Regions from separate parts of the Homo sapiens genome. Here all the other regions are linked to region 2. Evidence: promoter capture Hi-C in human tissues and cell types (Jung and others, 2019). All regions are on one chromosome and are shown on one strand. Each heading gives the region's core, a stretch centred on a gene start or on the middle of the fragment in contact. The rest is flanking DNA. Distances are from core to core; before and after follow the strand shown.

What was found. Contacts are between HindIII fragments. The study calls those that stand out against the background at their distance.
Region 1: a fragment that was not itself captured here is called in contact with the fragment with the promoter of AKAP13 in region 2 in 2 of the 25 tissues and cell types used here (aorta and spleen).
Region 3: a fragment that was not itself captured here is called in contact with the fragment with the promoter of AKAP13 in region 2 in 3 of the 25 tissues and cell types used here (IMR-90 fibroblasts, lymphoblastoid cells and mesenchymal stem cells).

Annotation. Positions count from the first base shown.
Region 1 is chr15:85,497,350-85,500,049 of GRCh38, forward strand. The region is part of intron 2 of AKAP13 (A-kinase anchoring protein 13); the gene reads left to right. Among named protein-coding and RNA genes, the nearest start is that of AKAP13, 120 kb to the left of the region's middle. The HindIII fragment of the contact is 3,827 bases long and covers 1-2,700 here.
Region 2 is chr15:85,379,153-85,381,852 of GRCh38, forward strand. It overlaps AKAP13 (A-kinase anchoring protein 13), which reads left to right and starts at 1,451. Exons shown (of 37, transcript NM_007200.5): 1 at 1,451-1,646. It overlaps MIR7706 (microRNA 7706), which reads left to right and starts at 1,444; the gene lies at 1,444-1,510. RefSeq lists silencers at 1,302-1,381, 1,762-2,331, 1,988-2,155. The HindIII fragment of the contact is 20,871 bases long and covers 1-2,700 here.
Region 3 is chr15:85,281,386-85,284,085 of GRCh38, forward strand. No RefSeq gene overlaps it. Among named protein-coding and RNA genes, the nearest start is that of MIR7706, 98 kb to the right of the region's middle. The HindIII fragment of the contact is 6,470 bases long and covers 1-2,700 here.

The DNA.
Region 1 (2,700 bases), core at 159-2,658, 120 kb after region 2:
GTGCAAACAGTGATTGTTCATGGCAGGGAGAGAGGAATGGAATATTGGCAGATGTAATTGGGAAGCTTTCAGAAAAGGTGGGGGCTCTACCAGCCTGGATAGATAGGCTGTGGAGACTGGGAAGAGCAGAGTGAGAGGAGGAAGCACAGTCTTTGGAGTAAGGCATGGAAGAGTGTTATCAGTTGTGGGGAGAGACTTTGCTTGACCAGGGTGGGCAGTTCACATTGAAGGATACCTGGAGATGAGATTATATATAGCTGCTCTGTTTAGTAATGTAGTCATTAGCCACATGTGACTGTTTAATTAAAGTGAAATAAAATTAAAAATTCACTTCATCAAATAGTGCTCAGTTGCTACACATAGCTAGTGGCTACCATACTGATTGCAGATAGAAAATATTTCCATCATTGCAGAAAATTCTGTTGGTCAGCACTGATAAAGGAAGTATGGGGTTTTACACAGGATAACAGTGTGAAGAGCAACTGGAGATCTTTTGACCAGGCAAATAGTAGCATGATGAAAGTCATACCCAAAATAAAGAGTAGAAGGAGAGCAGTGAGGGGCTGTCAAGTAGGTAGGCCTATCACTTCACCGTTACAGCACACAGAATGAGATCTGGGGATGATGAAGCTGTTCCGCAGGAAGAACATATGGATTTTGTCTGGTAGAATGACTGAAAACCTCAAGGAGCCACAGAATGGCCACTGAGGGTTTTAGTGTGAGGGACAGAGGGAGAATGGTGTAGCATCAATGAGCAAACAGTTTGGAGGAGGAGCTGCCTTGGAAGCCTGAGGGAGAACAGTCATGTTTTTTACAACAATGTGTGGTAGTAAGGATTAAATGAAGTGAGATATATATATATATATATATATATATATCACATTGAGCGAGATCATAGATAAAACTTTAGATATAGGTGGTTTTAAAAAGAGACGTACCCCCGTTATTTTGACATAGTGCATGTAAAGTTACATTGTGTGGCTTCGTCTTGCATCTTCTGCATAAATACTTGCGCTGAGAGCTCTTTCCCTTGTTAGCTTAGGTAGCAACTACCTTTTACTGAACACCTTCCTTGTAAGGTAACTTACTTTATCTCCTCACCCATGTGAGATCCATTTTATAGATGAACGAACATAGCTAGGAAGAGGTGAAGCGGTAATTCAAACTAAAAACTTTTGCTCTTCCCATTTCATCTCTGCACGTGAGGATGGTTTCACTATCAGCTCCCCAGGTTGATACTATTGAAGCTTGATGCTTACATCACATCTACATTTAGAGGTTGTCTTTGGCACTGAACTCTATTTACCATCTCTTTTTCAAATGTAAGACATACATCCTATAAAACTTGCTTACTCTCAGTGGTAATTGGTATGTGGGGTGACCTGGAATGACTGCCATCTGGACTTCTCTAGGGCGCTGGCTCTTGGTGTGAGGTCCGCAACCAGCAGCCACAGGCATGAGCACCACTAGGAACTTGGTAGAAATGCAGGTGTTTACGCCCCATCTCAGACCTAAATGCCAGAGGGTGGGGCCCAAAAAGTCACTTTAAAATAAGCCCTTCACATGATTCTGATGCACTCCAAAGTTTAAGCATATAAACCAAATGAACAAAGAGGATAGTTTTGAAAAGCCTCCTATGAATTAAATTGGAACTGTATGGGTACATTTACATTTTTCAACACGGCTGACTGTGTAACCCATCAGCAGTGGTTGCCTGTAAAGATGCATGGGAAAGTGTATATATTAAGTAAGATATTATTTCAGAAGGACAGATCTATGGCTTTTCTTTTTTAAAGGCTAGCTTCCTGAGTAAATTATCACTGCGTTATTGACTCAGAATAATATCAAGGTGTGTACTATCAAATACAGGGTTGGGTATCTCTTTGTAAGAGATAGCAGTGATTTTCAGTGGATAATTAAGGGAATTAGCACTTCACATTTTTTTCATGATATTTTTATGTCACTTAGAATTTTTCACGAATTATTCCTTGTATGATTGTAGATAATTAAAGCCCCATATGCTTTGCAGTAGTAGCAGCAGCGCAGATTATGATGCAGATGGAATTGGTAAGAGCAGTAGGTTTTGAAATGAGGTTGTAGACGGGCTGCTGAGACTGATTTTTGGACAGCATAAATGAAAGCAGTATTCTGATGTCAGCATTTGGAGTTTAAAAATCCCTAGCCATGGATCCCGTGCTGAGTCATTGGTACTTCAGGTAAACCAATTCCAACTCTATGTAAGCTAGCCTTCAGCCATGTGAAACTGTTAACGGCATCTCTTCCTCTCTCTGAACTGCACCCCCGAGCCCTGCCAATCCCTAACACATGCATAAAGAAAAACACTTATCTTTCAGGATTCATTTCCTGCCACTTGTCTCTGTGGAGCCCCTCCTGAGCTTTCATCCTCCTGTGGATCCATCACTCCTACTCCTATGCCCCGGCTACTCTGTGCAGACTTTGTAATAAGAGCTTGAGCACTTCAGATGCACATTTGTATGCATGCCTTTTCCGTTTATTATGTTCCTTGAGGGTAGGGGCTTTGTATTTGAATTATTATTTTATTGCTCTCATTTTTACTTCAGCTTCTATCACAGTACTTTGTGCATCATAATGCTAGTGTTTTTTATTGTTTCCAAGTAGAATTAAAGCTGTTCTTTGGGAAAGGGTGTTGCCTCATACATGGATGATTATAAATGTCTG
Region 2 (2,700 bases), core at 201-2,700:
AGATTGCACCATTGCACTCCAGCCTGGGCAACAAGAGTGAAACTCTGCCTCAAAAAAAAAAAAAAAAAAAAAAAGAAAAAAGAAAAAAAGAGAAAATATATGTGAGCACCAGAGCTCAACATTAGGAGCATTTCTGAGATTTGGAGCTATTCAACAATGGAAGTTCCTGGCACACACATCAGGTATTCACAATACCCTTTCTCAGGTGTTTGGTCACTGCTAGTGAGCCGCCTGGATCAGTGTTTCCCAAATGGCAGTCATTTGCATCTTTGCTTTTCTTTTGGGGGCGGGGGGGTAATATCCTGTACCAGATTTTTGAAAACTGACATTAAAAATACATGTTTAAAATGTGCAAAGTGCACTAAAGTGCACTGGATGTATTTTTTATTCATGTATATACTTTTGTTATCTATCACCCAGGTCAAAATACAGAACCAGCACCCCAGAGGGTTCCCTCCTCCTCCTTCCCAGCCAATAATCTTCTCCTCCTACCTAACCGCTGTTCTTACTTCAATCACTATCAACTAGTTTTACACGTTCTTCAACTGCATATAAATTGTCTCAGTTTTTTACTTAACACTTTTCTTGAAGTGCTTTCGTTTTTTGCCACTTTTTATTTGACCTAAGAAATAACATTAATGAAACAGTGGTTTGACGTGATAGGCATTTCCCTCCTAATGCGCACTAAAAACACTTAACTATTTGAAAAAAGAAGTTTCTTCGTGTACCAACTAATATATTCTCCGCCCTGTCTCCAGAAACCGCCCTTCCTCTGTGGGCCGGTGGTTACCGGCACCATTGGTACACGGACCACATTTTGTTTCCCAAAGCAACCAGATGATTTTTGAGGTCCTTTGCAGCTCGAACACGGAATGACTTTGTGGTGATCGAGTAGCCAGAAGTTCACGGAATGCACTGTCACAATTGTGATTCCGCCATAGCGCCGTGCATCCATCCAACACTTGTTTAATACCTATATTTAATACCTAATACCTTAGACGGTCCTAGGCTGTGGACACAGAAGACTAAACCCCACTTCCTGAGTTGAAGTGGGGGAAATAGAGGAGTAAATCATTTCACGATGTGTGGTTAAGTGCTGCAGCTCAGGTAACCACCAGTACACAGAGGAAGGGCGGTTTCTGGAGACAGGGCGGAGAGGAGACCGTGGGTGGGCATTTCCCAGAGCAGCCTCTGCCAGCCACCCTACTTTGATCACTTTGCCGCCGAGCAGCAGCGGCGGTCAACCTCAGCCTCCCTTAGCAACCTGAGTGCCCCGTCCAGGAGCCTTACTATTGGTCTCATGCAGCGAGATGGGCAGTTCTGCCGTGCAATCCCAGCTCGCAGTTCTTGCTCCGCGTGTACTCACGGGAGGACTCGCAGGCGTTACCGCCTTCCCGCGTGCCCCGCCCACCCTCCCGAGCGTCTTTCGGCGCATGCGCGGACTGGAGCTGTGTGCAGGGCCAGCGCGGAGCCCGAGCAGCCGCGGTGAAGCGCCTGTGCTCTGCCGAGACTGCCGTGCCCATTGCTCGCCTCGGTCGCCGCCGCTTTAGCCGCCTCCGGGGGAGCGGCCGCCTATTGTCTTTCTCCGCGGCGAAGGTGAAGAGTTGTCCCAGCTCGGCCCGCGGGGGAGCCCCGGGAGCCGCACGGTGAGAGCGCAACTTAGTTGGCGGAGTTGGGGGAAGTTTTGTGATTTGTGGGTCGGGGCGCGGAGCGCGGCCAGTCCCCTGCGGTTGCTCGGTGGGGCGGGCCCCGGAGGAGGGGCGGGGGCTGCGGGGGTTTCGGGGGCGGGCTGGACAGACGGGTCGCCGGGCGGCGCCGGGACCTCAGGTCTGCGGACCCCTCCTCCCTGCGCATCGCCCTTCTCCCGCATTGTCTGCTTGGGGCTCGGCGCGCCTCCCACTCCGCAGCCCAACTTAGAGGCCGTCGCCGCTTTCCGGGTGGGGGGCGCGCCCGGCCGCCGATGCTACCTCAGGCGCTCCGCCCCCAGCGAGGCCCCGAATCCTTGCCCCGGGTCCCCGGGTCGGCGCCGCCGGGGCGGGCTCACTCCTCCCCTGGGGCGGGCGGCCGCGGTGTGGAGTCCCCGCCGTGGAGTCCGCGCCGTGAACAAGTGCTGCGGGCGCGAGGGAGCGGCTCCCCGGGGTCGACGCGGACGGTAAACACGTCGGGCCGCGCCTGCCTGTCGGTGCCTCTCCGCGGCTTCTCGGGGGTGCGGCCCAGCTGACCCGCGCGGGTCGCAGGCGAGCGGCCCAGGAGACCCGTGCGGTCCCCACGCGCTCTGGGACCCGTGCAGCCAGCCGGCTCAGCTTGCAGCTATACTTTGATACCAAACAAAACTTTTTTTTTTTTTTTTGGTAAATACGGTTTACTGCTTTTTTTTTTTTTTTTTTTTTGCAAAGCCACGAAGTATGTGAAGTTGAAAAAAGGAAAAACCCTAAAACTTTTTAAAAAAAAATCAAGAAAGGGGGTAGATAGGTTTGTTTTGTTTTGGAAATAGTTCTTATAGCAGAGTGATACCGTCCCATTTAATTTTCTAGATCCCGGAATTCACAATGAAAATTGGATTGAGCGGTATTTTGGTGTTCATTCTTTGCTAATGACACTCCTTAATGAAGTTATTTGGAGAGTTTATTGCTTCAGTACAGTAAAAACCAGTGTGCCTTTTTTTTTGTTAGTAGTCCCCCCCACAACAAGTGTTTTATT
Region 3 (2,700 bases), core at 141-2,640, 98 kb before region 2:
CCATACACACACACACACACACACGTGCACACAGAGGCACATACACACATGGACACCCACATACATATGCACACACACACCCATACCCAGCAACGCATATGCAAATGCAGATATGCACACATGTACACACTCACATCCACACCCACTCACATCCACACACATGCACACATGCACACAATTCATATCTGCACACACACAAATGCATGTGCACGTGTGTATGCACACACAATCACTGCCACATACACGTACCAACCCTGTGCATACCTAGGCACACAGGACCACCCCCAAGCTCACTCCTTCTCACTGGGAACCTTCTTACTACTATTGAGACTCTGAGAGTTAATACTGAGTGTCAACTTGATTGGATTGAAGGATGGAAAGTATTGATCGTGGATCGTGGGTGTGTTTGTGAGGGTGTTGCCAAAGGAGATTAACATCTGAGTCAGTGGGCTGGGAAGGCAGATCCACCCTTAATCTGGACGGCCACAATCTAATCAGCTGCCAGTGAATATAAAGCAGGCAGAAAAACATGAAAAGGTTAGATGGGCCTAGCCTCTCAGCCTACATCTTTCTCCCATGCTGGATGCCTCCTGCCCTCAAACATCGGACTCCAAGTTTTTCAGTTTTGGAACTCGGACTGGCTCCCCTTGCTCCTCAGCCTAGACAGCCTATTCCGCGACCTTGTGATCATGTGAGTTAATACTTAAGAAACTCCCCTATATATATGTGTGTATACATATATACATACGTATATATACGTATGTATATACGTATATATATGTGTGTGTGTGTATATATATTCCATTAATTCTGTCCCTCTAGAGAACCCTGACTAATACAAACTCAAAGAATGTTTTTTCCTGTCAGCCTTCCTTGGCCCCCCTGACATAAACAATTGTAGCTAAACTTCTCCATCCTTGCTGCATGCCTGGGATGTTTACAACTTTGCTCCCTGTTTCCTCTTTTATCCTGATGATTTTATTAACAGTTATGAATAGCATTTCACATGAATGGCAGCTTCCGGCGAAGGGTCTGCAACTCTGAGGCTATGAGTCCTGTAAATGAGTGAATTTCTTACTTTATCACTGACATAATTTTATACTGTGCTTTTCAAATGCATTTAGGTCAAGGAAAGCTTTTATTGGTACCTAAAGCTGAGATTCAGCAAACTCTGATATTCCATTGTCTGTTGATAGTGAACAAAAAGCAAGAAAAGAAGAATGTAAATGTCTGCTCTGGGTTTCTTCTCTGACAGGCACTGTTGCTGAGGAACGCTCTAGTGATCCATCACTTAACAGGACTCCACTAGTCTCAGGCCAAGGTTAACACGTTGCTTCTCTTCCCTTTTTAAACATCTCCTGCATCTGCTATTTGCTTTCCATTACCTGGCCTCCCAGGTTTTGCCCAAGGACACTGAAGTTTCTCTTGGTGGTGGAACGACAAGACACGGGCCAATGGGTATTCTGGCAACATCCCCTATAGTGGCAAAAGATGATGTGGCTGCTGCCCAGAGCCCTGGCACGGAGCCTGTGGCCACCTCTGACAAACACCCACAAACATGCAGCAGAGCTAAATAGCCGCTTCGTGAGCGTCCCTGGCAGGGATGAGCAATACTCTTTCTCTGCCTCCTCAGAAAACAGTTTTTTTTTGTTTTGTGTTTTGATTTTAGACGGAGTTTCGCTCTTGTTGCCCAGGTTGGAGTGCAATGGTGTGATCTCAGCTCACCGCAACCTCTGCCTCCTGGGTTCAAGCGATTCTCCTGCCTCAGCCTCTTGTGTAGCTGGGATTACAGGCATGTGCCACCATGCCCGGCTAATTTGTATTTTTAGTAGAGACAGGGTTTCTCTATGTTGGTCAGGCTGATCTCGAACTCCCGACCTCAGGTGATCCGCCCACCTCTGCCTCCCAAAGTGTTGGGATTACAGGCATGAGCAGAAAACAGTTTGCTGGAACATCAAGCCAAAGGAAAGGTGTAATTTATTGTGGGGATTGCGTATTAGATAATTAGTTTTCAGGAGTTCCTTCGGTAATTACAATCTGTAACATTTGTAATTGATTTGGTCAGATTAAAAATGGATGTGTTGGTACATCTGTGAAACTAGCAAGAGGGTAAGGAGGAGTGGGAGGGGGAGATGTCTCACCGAAGGAGACCAAGAGCAACATGGACTCAGGCCAAGCCCCAGATGACACCCTTTCTGAAGCCAAAATTACAGCAGGCCTCTAAGATGCACACCCAGCAGATAAGTTCTTTCCCAAAAAAGACCATGTCGGGAGGCCCAACATCTCCTGAGCGGCTCTTTATAACCATCAGAAGAGCTGCTGCCACAGGGGCTTGTGAAGTCAGACACTTACCTTAGCCCTGCGTCGACCCGGGTCTGTCAACTAGATTGGCATAAATGAAAATCAGTCACTTTGCAAAACAGGAGGAAGGAATCCTTCTCTTGGAAGAGATGAGGGCCAAAGAGAGGATGAATGGGGCAAGAGTGTAGAAAGGAAGCTGCCACCTGCCAGACATCCTCTTGGGTGGATCACCTCTGACCCGAGCCCTATGAAAAGACTTCTGCCTTCTGGGACCTTCACCAAAAGGCTTTCGCCCCCTCTCGGTCTGACTCATGCTCCTGCCAGGGCTCCTCTGTTCTCCTGTCACAGCCAGGTGTGCTGTGAACTGGAACAGCAGCTCTCTCTTCAGGCGGGGACCAG